Linked DNA regions of Homo sapiens: region 1 is linked to region 2. The links are contacts of gene promoters, found by promoter capture Hi-C in blood cells and fetal thymus (Javierre and others, 2016). All regions are on one chromosome and are shown on one strand. The core of a region is centred on a gene start or on the middle of the fragment in contact, and the rest is flanking DNA. Distances in the headings are between cores, read along the strand shown.

Region 1 (6,394 bases), core at 815-3,314, 490 kb before region 2:
ACACAGGTCAACAGAAAATATATTTCCAAAACCCTGTACCACTTCCTGGTTAATATCTCCCAGAGTTAACCACTATCCTGATTATCATCATAAGTTTTTTTTCTGTCCTCAAACTTCATATAAATGGAATCATATAGTCTATGGTTTTCTGTGTCAACATAATGTGTTAGAGATTCATCCAAGTTGCTGCATGTATCAGTAGTTAATGTTTGGTAAATTGCTGAGTAGTATTCCACTATGGATGTACCACATTTTGTTTATACATTTTATTATTGATGGACTGCTGGGCTGTATCCAGTTTTGGCCCCTTATGACTAATGCTTCTATGAGTGTCCTTTTAGATGTCTTTTGGGGACATGGCTCATACTTCCATTGTAAGAAATTACTATTATGTTCTCTTGGGCAGTTTTTCCAGAAAGAATACAAATTTTGAATGCTAACAGGTCTGAAAATGCTTACTCTCTCCTCATATGTGTGAATGATATATTTGCTGAGCATCAAATCCTGAAATCAGAGTCTTTGTGTTTCTGGAATCTTCACTTATCTTCTAGTGTCCAGGGTTTCAGAAGAGAAACCAATGCTGCTTATACATACCCTGTGCTCTTTGTAAGGGATTTGCAATGAAACTTGTGAAGTTTGCACTAGTTTTGGAGTATGGGTACTTCACCAGACTATGATGTCTTTTTAACCCTGCCAAGACATTGGACATGCCCTTAGAAATGTGAAGATACGTACAACTCATTTTTTTTATTTTTTTGAGATGGAGTTTTGCTCTTGTCACCCAGGCTGGAGTGCAATGGCACAACCTTGGCTCACTGCAACCTCTACCTCCCGGGATCAACTGATTCTCCTGCCTTAGCCTCCCAAGTAGCTGGGATTACAGGCATGTGCCACCACACTCAGCTAATTTTTCTATTTTTACTAGAGACAGGGTTTCACCATGTTGGCCAGGCTTGTCTCAAACTCCTGACCTCAGGTGATCCTCCTGCCTCGGCCTCCCAAAATGCTGGGATTACAGGTGTGAGTCACCGTGCCTGGCCAACATACAACTCTTTATGATGCTTCTATTCAAGTAGATAGAAGAATGCTATTGGCAAAGTATTAGCAAGTTAGTATAAAGCTCTCTGATTTGTTTGGAGTGATAATATTTGGATTATGCAGAAAAAAATTGATAGCATATCCTTCAGCCCTCATCTAGGACTATCATAAAATTATACACATAAGGATCCCCATGATGCTAAAAGGTGTATGATTCCTGCACCATTCTTCAAGGTTGACGGTTCTTTTATTCATACGTGATGTAGAAAAATAGATACGCTGTTGCCATATGATTCCTGCACCATTCTTCAAGGTTGACGGTTCTTTTATTCATACGTGATGTAGAAAAACAGATACGCTGTTGCCACTGATAACATTTATGGGCAACCCGCTTGGGTCCCCTTCCACACTGTGGAAGCTTTGTTCTTTCGCTCTTTGCAATAAATCTTACTGTTGCTCACTCTTTAAAAAAAAAAAAATTTACATGTGATTACCTATGACAACCATTTCTCTTCTTTTCTTTTCTTTTAGACAGGGTCTCGTTTAGTCACCCAGGCTGGAGTGCAGTGGTACCATCTCAGCTCACTGTAGCCTTGACCCCCTCAAGCAGTCCTCACTTCCCAAGTAGCTGGGACTACAGGAATGCACCACCACGCACAGCTAATTTTTGTATTTTTATTAGAGACGGGGTTTCTCCATGTTGCACAGGCTGGTCTTGGACTCCTGAGCTCAAGTGATCCACCTGCCTTGCCCTCCAAAAGTGCTGGGATTACAGGTGTGAGCCTCTGTGCCCAGCCATGATTATCTATGGCAACCATTTTTTTTTTTTTTTTTGAGATGGAGTTTTGCTCTGTTGCCCGGGCTGGAGGGCAGTGGTGTGATCTTGGTTCACTGCAACCTCCACCTCCTGGGTTCAGCTATTCTCCTGCCTCAGCCTCCTGTGTAGCTGGGATTACAGGCATATGGGAGACATTTCTTTTTCTTTTTCTTTTTTTCTTGTTTTTTTTGAGACGGAGTCTTGCTCTGTCACCCAGGCTGGAGTGCAGTGGCACGATCTCGGCTTACAGCAAGCTCTGCCTCCTGGGTTCACACCATTCTCCTGCCTCAGCCTCCTGAGTAGCTGGGACTCCAGGCGCCCACCACCACACCCAGCTAATTTTTTTTTTTTGTATTTTTAGTAGAGACGGGGTTTCACGGTGCTAGCCAGGATGGTCTTGATCTCCTGACCTCGTGATCCACCCGCCTCGGACTCCCAAAGTGCTGGGATTACAGGCGTGAGCCACTGTGCCCAGCCGCATATGGCCAGACATTTCTATGAGACATTGTTCATCAGGCCTAGACCCTGAGTCCCCATTAAATGGTGTTTCTATGGCAAATTAGGGACATATGTAGAATAGAACTGCTTATCCCTGCTGATCTGTGGCTGCAGGGAGTCACAAGTTTGCAGTCTTGTTACATTCAGATACTTAAGAGTTAAAAAATAACTGGTGGCTTTTGCCTCCTTTATCCCTGATGTCAAATAAAATGGAATTCCAACCAATAGCTTTTCCACATTGATCTTTTTTCAATGAGTTTTTCTAATTTGTTTGAATTTCCTGGTGTCAAATAAGGTAAAAGCCATGGTTGAAAGCTTGCCAATACTGACTGCATTCATAGTGTTCTCCAGTATGAGTCCTCTTACGTTCAATAATATGAGAACAACTCCTGAATGCTCTTCCACGCAAATTACATGTATGGGGTTTTCCTCAGTATGAGTCCTCTGATGTCACATCATAAGGGCTAGGCTACGTCTGAAGCCTTTCCCACGATGACTGTATCCATCACTTTGCTCTCCAGTGTGTCTTCTGTGATTTTTGAGTAGTGGAGGAGCAAAGTGTAAAACCTTTCCCTGAATGATTCCCTTCATAAGGTGTCTCTATAGATTCTTAGCTATAGGGTAAAAGTGTTCACTTCTTTAGAAGAATTTCCTAAATTCACTGCAAATATATAATTTCCCACAAGTATAAATTGTCTCATATTGAATAAGGTATAATTTGTGTCTACAGCCTTTGCTACAGCGATTACATTTATAGTATTGTTCTCCTGTATAAGTTCTGAAACATACTGAAAGAAATATTTCTTAATAAAGACTCTCCAACACTCAACACATTTGTAAGGTCTATTTCCTGAGAGAGTTTGCTCATACATCAGTGGGGTTGAGCTCTGTTTAAAGACTTCTTTACACATACTACATTTATATGGTCTCTCTCCAGTATGACTTCTCTGATGTCAGAAAGTATTTACCATAAACAGGGATTTCTCACATTCAGAACATCTGGAGGGTTTGTCAACTGTGTGAGTGCTCTCAAAACAAAGATGAGAGGAGCTCTGAATACACTTTTCCACATTCCTTACATTCAACTCAACTCTCTCTAACATGAATTCGCTTACATTGACTGAGACTTGTGCTACACTTAAAAAATTTACTACGTATATTTCATATATAAGGCTTTTCTACACTGAACTGTTTGCAAGTCTAAGAAGTTGAGTGTTTTGACCAAAAGCATTCCCAAAATCATAATTTTCAGGGGTTTTTCCCTGTGCATTTATGGTTTATTAAATCTGAATGTTGTTTTACAATGAGTCATGTATGTAGTGGTATTCATTGATAAGAATATTGTTTAGTGGGCCAGGCACGGTGGCTCACGCCTGTAGTCCCAACATTTTGAGAGGCCAACGTGGGTGGATCACAAGGTCAGGAGTTCAAGACCAGCCTGGCCAAGATGGCGACACCCCTGTCTCTACTAAAAATACAAAAATTAGCCAGGTGTGGTGGCGGGTGCCTGAATCCCAGCTACTTGAGAGGCCGAGGCAGAGAATTGCTTGAACCCAGGAGGTGAAGGTCGCAGTGAGCCAAGATCATGCCATTGCACTCCAGCCTGGGTGACAGAATGAGACTCTGTCTCAAAAAACAAAAACAAGGCCAGGCGCGGTGGCTCATGCCTGTAATGGCAGCACTTTGGGAGGCCAAGGAGGGTGGATCATGAGGTCAGGAGATCGAGACCATCCTGACTAACACGGTGAAACCCCGTCTCTACTAAAAATACAAAAAATTAGCTGGGTGTGGTGGCGCGCGCTTGTAGTCCCAGCTACTCTGGAAGCTGAGGCAGGAGAATGGCATGAACCCGGGAGGCAGAGCTCGCAGTGACCTGAGATCCTGCCACTGCACTCCAGCCTGGGTGACAGAGCAAGACTCTGTCTCAAAAACAAAACAAAACAAAACAAAAAAGAATATTGTTTAGTGGAAGAAGGCTTGAATTCTACTTAACATTAGCTGTGCATTTCTTATTCTTGCAACCTCATTCCTGAATCAGTGTTCCTCAAGCATCATTTGTTTGACTCATCTCTCCTGGTCCTCCTTCTGCTTCTCTAAGTGGACCTTACAGTCCTGGTTTCTTCCAAATGTGAAGAAATGAAGCTCATTCTTTGTGAATCTTTCCACTTTCAGGATGGCATTTTTGTTGTTGTTGTTTTTATTTTGTTTTGTTTTGTTTTGAGACGGAGTCGTCCTCTGTCACCCAGGCTGGAGGGCAGTGGCGCAGTCTCGGCTTACTGCAACCTCTGCCTCCTGGGTTCAAACAATTCTCCTGCCTTAGCCTCCCAGGTAGCTGGGATTACAGGTACACGCCACCATGCCCAGCCAATTTTTGTATTTTTTTTTTAGTAGAGACGGGGTTTCACCGTGTTGGCCAAGCTGGTCTCAAACTCCTGACCTTGTGATCCACCCACCTCAGTCTCCCAAAGTGCTCGGATTTCAGGCATGAGCCACCACGCCTGGCCTGGCATATGGTTTTCAGACAAATGTCTTCCTTCCTGGTTATCTCTTTGCTTTTGATGATAGTTTCACAATCCAAAAAAAAAAAAAAACCAGATACATTTGTACATCCCCTACAGTTGTTCACTGAATAAATTATGGCTTGTTCAATCAATTAAAAAACCATAATTTTAAGAGCTGGAGAGAAAATGCTGGTATTAAGCACATCGAAAGCATGTTGATTTGTTTCCAAATCTGTCTTGCCAGGAGCGACTGAGCAAATAAGAATAAGCCCAGTCTCTCCAGGTGGCTGATAGGAAAATAGATCAATCTCTGCTAGTAGTCATTTCTCACTCTCTTTTCTTTTTCTTTCTTTCTTTTTTTTTTTTTTTCTTTTGAGACGGAGTCTCGCTCTGTCGCCCAGGCTGGAGTGCAGTGGCACGATCTTGGCTCACTGCAAGCTCTGCCTCCTGGGTTCACGCCATTCTCCTGCCTCAGCCTCCTGAGTAGCTGGGACTACAGGCGCCCGCCACCATGCCCAGCTAATTTTTTGTATTTTTAGTAGAGACGGGATTTCACCATGTTAGCCAGGATGGTCTCGATCTCCCAACCTCGTGATCCACCAGCCTCAGCGTCCCAAAGTGCTGGGATTACAGGCGTGAGCCACCGCGCCCAGTCTCCTCACGCTGTTTTCAAGATGCTCTTCTGGACCCCAGTGCTTTGGGGGCTTGTCCTGAGCCCTCTTCTCTCATCCACCAGTATGGTCTGTTTTATTCTGCTGGCTTCAAACACCATCTGAACATTGATGAATCACAATTTGTAGCTTCATTCCAGATTCTTTTCTGAGCATGGACATATTTCACCATATTCATACTGCCTGCTGGGAGTGTCTATTCATTTTACAACCATACCTTGTCAGTACTGAGTTCTACTCTCATGCTCTACCTCCTCTTCTCCCAGGTTTCTCCTGTCCATGGATTGCATCACAGTTGCTCATGCCAGTAGCCATGGACCCTTCCACTTCCATTTTGAATCAATCACCAAATTCTGAGCCCACCTTAAACATACATTGAAATGATCCCCTTTTTACTTCCATTGACTCATCCGGTTCCAAGTCATGACACTTCTTGACTGAACTACACAGTAGTGCTTTCATCATCATCTCCTCTTCTGTTCATGACACCATCCCAACACTCAACCAGTGCAACCGTTCAAACATGGAAATCAGGCCAGGTGTGGTGGCTCACCCTTGTAATACCAGCACTTTGGGAGGCCAAGGCAGGAAGATCACTTGAGTTCAGAAGTTCGAGACCAGCCTGGACAACACAGTGAGACCCCCGTCTCTACAAAAAAAGTTTTTTTTTAATTAGCCGGGTGTGGTGGTGTGCACTTATGATTTCGGCTACTTGGAAGGCTGAGGTGGGGGGATTTCTTGAGCCCAGGATTCCAAGGTTGCAGCAAGCTATGATTGCACCACTGCACACCAGCCTGGGTGACACAGCAAGACCCTGTCTCTTTTATTTATTTATTTATTTTTTTTATTATTTTTATTTATATATACTT
Region 2 (6,223 bases), core at 267-2,766:
CATTCTCTGAAAGCTCTCATACTCTTAGCAGGTCAAAAATAAAACTTCTGATATCCCAAATGAAAACTACTCCTACTATGTACTTCCCCATCTTAGTTGATGGAGCTTCCACACTTCTAACTGCCAAAATAAAACCTTTCAGTCATCCCTGACTCCACTCTCTTTCTCAAAACTAAAAATTCAGGCAGCCCTACTTAAAAAATGAATCCAGAATCCAACTGCTTCTCGCATCTTCACAGCCACCATTTTGGCCTATCACATTCTATCACATTCACCTGGCCTATCCCAGTAGTCTCCTCCCAGGTCTCCCCACCTCATCCTTCAGTTGGCTTCCCATGCTGCAGCCACAGGGAGCCTAATAAGACCAGAACCAGATCACCTCCCTCTTCCACTCCAAACCTCCCACTGTTACTATTAAGTAACGAATAGACAACTCAACTTCTCAGGGAACCATTCCGGGTCTGACTTCTACTACACTGCTCCCTGTTCTCATGAAAAGAAAATAATTGTAGGTTCCTGAACTATCTTAGCCTCCTCTCCAAACTTAGCATATACTGGTAACTTTGCCTTGGACAACCTTCTACATCTCCTTTCCCCCGGCTGCCAACAGCTTCATATAATCTAACCTGGACTTAAGACTCTGGGCTTTGTATTTGCTCAAAGTCTCAGGGCCCAAGGCTAGACGAGTGGCGAGGCTCAGGTCGCCCAATGACCCTGGTCCAGTTTTGGAGCCAGGTGGCCTGGGCTGGCTGCACTATCTCCGCACCTCAGTTCTCAGTGCTGACTTTACCAGCTGCGTGAGCTTGGACAAGAACTCAGTCTTCCTATGCCTAACTACTATTACCTCTCTTCAGCCTGTTCTTCCCCTGAGCAACTTTTGGATAGCTTTAGGAAATCCTAGCCCAGTGTCCCTATCTGTTCACAAATCTCGAAGGCTGCCAGTGTCCTCAGAATCGTCAAATTCGTCAGGTGCAACTCTGCCTCACTCTATGTTCCTGCAGACCCGAGACGGACCCCAGGCTCCTGAATCCCCCCCAGCTTAGTCGCAGCTCCAAGTTCTGCACGCGCCAGTCAACTGCCCGTCACATTTCCGTACACACTGGGCGTCACAAACGGGTCCAATCCACAAGCGCCTTCTTGTCCAGGGTACTGGGGCCTGGGCTGCAGGGCTGTGAGCAGGCATCCCTCACTGGGCCTTAAGGCTTCTGCTGGGGGAGGTAGGCGAGACCCGGAGGACGCACAACTCACCTGAGCCGAGTCCCTCAGCGCGACTGCCGCCATTGAGCTCCGTGGACTAGGCGGGGAGCGGCGGCCGACCGGGGCGGGCATTCGAACACAACAGTCCCTATCCCGGGCCTGGCGCAGCTCACCCGAGGTGGTGTCGCAGAACCTCTGGCCCACTTTCGCGACTTCTCTGTCCCGTCCCTCAGTCGCGACCTCCACTGCAGAAACTGGCGGGCTGGACAAACAGGACAGAGGCCAAAATGACCGCCACGAGGAGGACGCCGGAAGTTCCGGCCCGTCGCGCTGCGCGTGCGCGGAAGTGTTGCTATCCTGGGCTGTCATTGGCTCAACTCCGCCGCCGTTTTGCGCTCTGCACTCTGGATAATGTAGTTTCCAAAACTCCACGGAGCTCTTCGGAGTGTGTCCACTGCTTTGACCTCTGCGAACTTGTATTCTGAGGTGCTGTGCCCCGTGCAGGGAAATGGCGACTTCGGCCTCTAGGGGAGAAGGAGGTATTTACTCCTTCTTAAAGGGGCTTTTCCCAGATTTCTGGGAAGTGTTTTCCGTAACTGATCACTTAAGTGTTTAGAGACATTATTTCAGACTCCACGAAGCTCAGGGTGCCCCTAGAGGCAAACAAATATTATTTCAGGGGGTTGGGCGCGGTGGCTCACGCCTGTAATCCCAGCACTTTAGAAGGCCGAGGCGGGCGGATCACCTGAGGTCAGAAGTTCGAGACCAGGCTGGCCAACATGGCGGAACCCCATCTCTACTAAAAATACAAAAATTAGTCGGGCGGGCCGGGCGCAGTGGTTCACGCCTGTAATCCCAGCACTTTGGGAGGCCAAGGTGGGTGGATCACGCGATCAGGAGTTCGAGACCAGCCTGGCCAACATGGTGAAACCCTGTCTCTACTAAAAATACAAAAATTAGCCGGGCATGGTGGCGAGCGCCTGTAATCCCAGTACTTGGGAGGCTGAGGCAGGAGAATCGTTTGAACCTGGGAGGCAGAGGTTGCAGTGAGTCGAGATCACGCCATTGCACTCCAGCCTGGGCGACAGGGGGAGACTCCGTCTCCAAAAAAAAAAAAAGAAAAAAAAAATTTGGATTTTGGAGCATTTTGGATTTTAGATTTTTGGCTCAGGGATATTCAACCTGTATTTTGTTCTCATTAAATAGGTTCCTCTTTCACTTTGTTATTGTTTGATATACTAAAGTTTTAATTTTCATGAAGTCTAATTGGTCTATTTTTCTTTTGTCACATGTGTATTTGGTGTCAAATCCAAGAAATTATGGCCAAATTCAATGTCATAAAACTTTCACCCTATATTTTCTTTTAAGTGTTTTATAGTTTTGGGTCTTATGTTTAGGTTTTTAGTCCATTTTGAGTTCATTTGTGTTTTTGGTGTTAGGTAAGGGTTCACCTTCATTCCTTAGCATGTGAATATTTCATTTTCCCAGCATCATTTGCTGAAAAGATCATCGTTTCCCCATTGAGTGGTCTTGGTAGCCTTGTTGAGATCATTTGACCATATACATTACTATTGCAAATGATATTGTTTTCTTAATTTCCTTTTCAGATTTTTCATTGTTAGTGTATGGAAGGGCATATGAGTTTTACATGTTGACTTTTGCATGTTGACTTTGAATTCAGCTACACAGGTGAATTTGTTTATCAGTTCTTTTTTTTTTTTTTTTTCCCAGACGGAGTCTCACTCTGTTGCCCAGGCTAGAGTGCAATGGCTTGATCTTGGCTCACCACAAGTTCCACCTCCCAGGTTCAAGCAATTCTTCTGCCTCAGCCTCCCAAGTGGCTGGCACTACAGGCGCCAGCACCATGCCCGGCTAATTTCTGTATTTTCAGTAGAGCGAGGGTTTTACCATGTTGGCCAGGCTGGTCTTGAACTCCTGACCTCAGGTGAGCCACTGCGCCTGGGCTTTTTTGTTTTTGTTCTTGAGACAGTGTCTTGCTCTGTCTCCCAGGGTGGAGTGCAGTGGCGCGATCTCAGCTCACTGCAACCTCTGCCTCCCGGGTTCAAGCGATTCTCCTGCCTCAGCCTCCTGAGTAGCTGGGGTTACAAGCATACACCACCATGCCCAGCTAATTTTTGTATGTTTAAATTAATCAAAGTTGCCAGCAAAAAAAAAAAAAAATATTAATTCCTCCCTTAGAAGTTACAATAAACATCTTTTTAAAATTTTTTTGAGCCTGTCACCCAGGCTGGAGTGCGGTGGTCTGTTCTCAGCTCACTGCAACCTCTGCCTCCCAGGTTCAAGTGATCCTCTCATCTCAGCCTCCCAAATAGCTGGGATTACAGGCGCATGTCGCCAAACCTAGCTAATTGTTTTTTTGTATTTTTTGTACAGATGAGGTTTTGCCTTGGTGCTCAGGCTGGTCTCAAACTCCTGGACTCAAGTGATCTGCCCGCCTCAGCCTGACAAAGTGCTGGGATTACAGGCATGAGACACTGTGCCCAGCCTAAACATCTTTAATCTAATTCGACCTTCAAATAACTACTGGATTGCTTCACATGTAATGCAGGGACCCTGTAACAGGACCTTTGGGGATGAATTCTTTAGTATTTGTGTGAGAAAAGCTTTATTCTCCTCCACCTTTGAAAGATAACATTGCTGGATATAGATGTTAGGGTGGGGTTTTATTTTTTGTACTAAATTTTGAACTTTCACTCCATTCCCTTCTTGATTATCTGGTTTCTGACAAGAATTCTACTCTAAATCTCATCCTTGTTCCTCAGCAGGTAAAGTGCCCTCTCCCACCTCCATCTTCTTTCAAGAATTTCTCTATCTTTGGCCTTCTGTAGTTTGAATATGATGTACCTAGTTGTAGGTTTTTGGTATTTACACTGCTTCCTCTTCTCTGAGATTTCTGGATCTGTGGTTTGGTGTCTATGATTAATTTTGGACCTCCAAGTGGAGGTTGCAGTGAGCCAAGATCACACCACGGCACTCCAGTCTGAGCGACAGATCAAGACTCTGACTCAGAAAAAAAAAAAAAAGCCGGGCACGGTCACTCACGCTTGTAATCCCAGCACTTTGGGAGGCCGAACCACTGCGGCCGGCCCCATCTCTTTTTTTAAAAAAGGATATCAACATTATGGATTCATTCATTTATTCAACAGAAATTTATTGGTTCTTGGAAATGTTCCACTTTCCCAACCACTTGGAATACTTTAGTGAACAAAACTGACAAATTCCATGCTCTCCTTAGCCTTACATTTTAATGAAGCAAGACAATAAATTGAAAGCATAATCAGGAGATTATATCTTATATCCTAAGTAGATAAATACTATAGGAATATACATACTTGCATACATATTTATACACATTATCAGACCAGCAGCTTAGGAAGCTTCTGGTGTGGAGGGAACACTTGGCAGGGTAATTTTCTCATGAGTCCTCATATGGCGGTGGTATGTGGATGACTGGCGGTAGCTTGTCTTACAAAAGGGACATGTATAAGGCTTTTCTCCTGTGTGGATTCTCTCATGAGACCGCAGGTTGGTTTTGTGGCTGAAGGACTTTTTACACATGCTGCATGTGAAAGGCTTCTTTCCTGTGTGAATTATCTGATGCACCCGTAGGTCTGATATCTGGAAGAAGCCTTTTTGACACTCGGGACAAACAAATGGCCTCTCATTCCTGTGTCTTCTCTGGTGAGCTAATAAGTGACAGAGATACTTAAAGACCTTGGGGCATTCTTCACATTTGTATGATTTTTGGACTCCATGGGATCCTTTCTGATGTACCTCACATGTGGAATTTCCCTCATTGCTCTGGTGGGTAAGGGCAGACTCAGGGGAGGACTGCTCTGGTTGAGAGATACACCCTGCTCCCATCACCATAGGGACACCTTGGAAAGTGATTCCATTTATGGACCCTTCCTGAGATCTAGCAGTGACTAGCTCTGCTCTTTTTGAGTTGTATGGGTTGTCAGAAGAAACACCTCCCTCTTCAGGCCTAGGACCGTTCTCTTCCTGGATGATGATTAGGGAAACTATTTGATTGCCTTGATTAGTAATATTTTCATTTACTCGAGTAGTTTTCGAAGAACTGTTCCAGCCATCTTGTTCATCTTCATATCCTGTGAAAATAGACACTCAATGAAGTTGTACTTAAGAAGGGGTCCACATAGAACACTCCTCAGTTGTGCAGATTCACCTGACTTACCTTGTCCTGTTTCTAAGGAAGTATCTTGGGAAGTCTGGGAGGGTGTCCCCATGTTTGCTTCTCTTGTGGTTTGGGCATTCACTTGTTTTGTGAGATGAACAATGACATCTCTTAAGGGCATATCCTCAGAAAAGAGAGCTTCCTGTCCCTGCATGTGGACGTGGACCTGTAAAGAAAGCCAGATCACTGTTGTATCTGAATCTGTTGTGTAACAGAAGACTTTTTGGAAAAGTGGTCCTTAACAGGCTCTCACAAGCTCCCTCAAGTATTGGCTATCACATATTTTGTCCACCATCTCTGATGGTGTTATTCTTGTTACTACAAGCTCTTATGTTTAATAAAGTCACATGGACATTGAATTTACAAGTACTGAATCATTTCCCCTAGGAAAAATTCAGGGTTAGTTTCCTGTGAGCTTCTGGCTACATTATTTTTGTCAACTGATCAATACATGAGTTTGTTTTATGTGTGTATATGTTCAAAGACACCCCATTTAATATATATTATTGATTAATCCTGAACTCAGAGGATCCAACACATGTATTATCTCCATAATACATAGCAACTTTCCTGCACTTAGGAAGACTAGACAGTGTTTCAGCATTTTACTTCAGTGTCACTTTAAACAACAAAGTTATCAATAAAAAGCAAAAAAAAAAATGTGCCACTAAATAGACTGTGAAAAGGACACTTATTTACACTGTAGGAACCAAAATAGGAAGTGAGGTTGTGGCCTTGTTCAACCTCACCTGGAAACATGCACCTAAGGTAAATCAAATATTTTACCACCTGCACATATCTGAAAATGAC

Evidence for each region. Contacts are between HindIII fragments. The CHiCAGO score rates a contact against its expected background, and 5 or more counts as called.
Region 1: a fragment that was not itself captured here is called in contact with the fragment with the promoter of ZNF551 in region 2 in 1 of 17 cell types (monocytes); the score reaches 5.5 in monocytes.

What each region holds. Positions count from the first base shown.
Region 1 is chr19:58,163,304-58,169,697 of GRCh38, reverse strand. The region is part of intron 1 of LOC124904784 (a long non-coding RNA gene); the gene reads right to left. Among named protein-coding and RNA genes, the nearest start is that of ZNF329, 16 kb to the right of the region's middle. The HindIII fragment of the contact is 1,212 bases long and covers 1,459-2,670 here.
Region 2 is chr19:57,677,270-57,683,492 of GRCh38, reverse strand. ZNF551 (zinc finger protein 551) reads right to left here and starts at 1,516. Exons shown (of 3, transcript NM_138347.5): 1 at 1,249-1,516. The coding sequence starts at 1,329. ZSCAN4 (zinc finger and SCAN domain containing 4) reads right to left here. Exons shown (of 5, transcript NM_152677.4): 4 at 5,414-5,579; 5 at 4,341-5,327. The coding sequence ends at 4,588. RefSeq lists a silencer at 1,076-1,145 and an enhancer at 1,201-1,824. The HindIII fragment of the contact is 7,295 bases long and covers 1-3,823 here.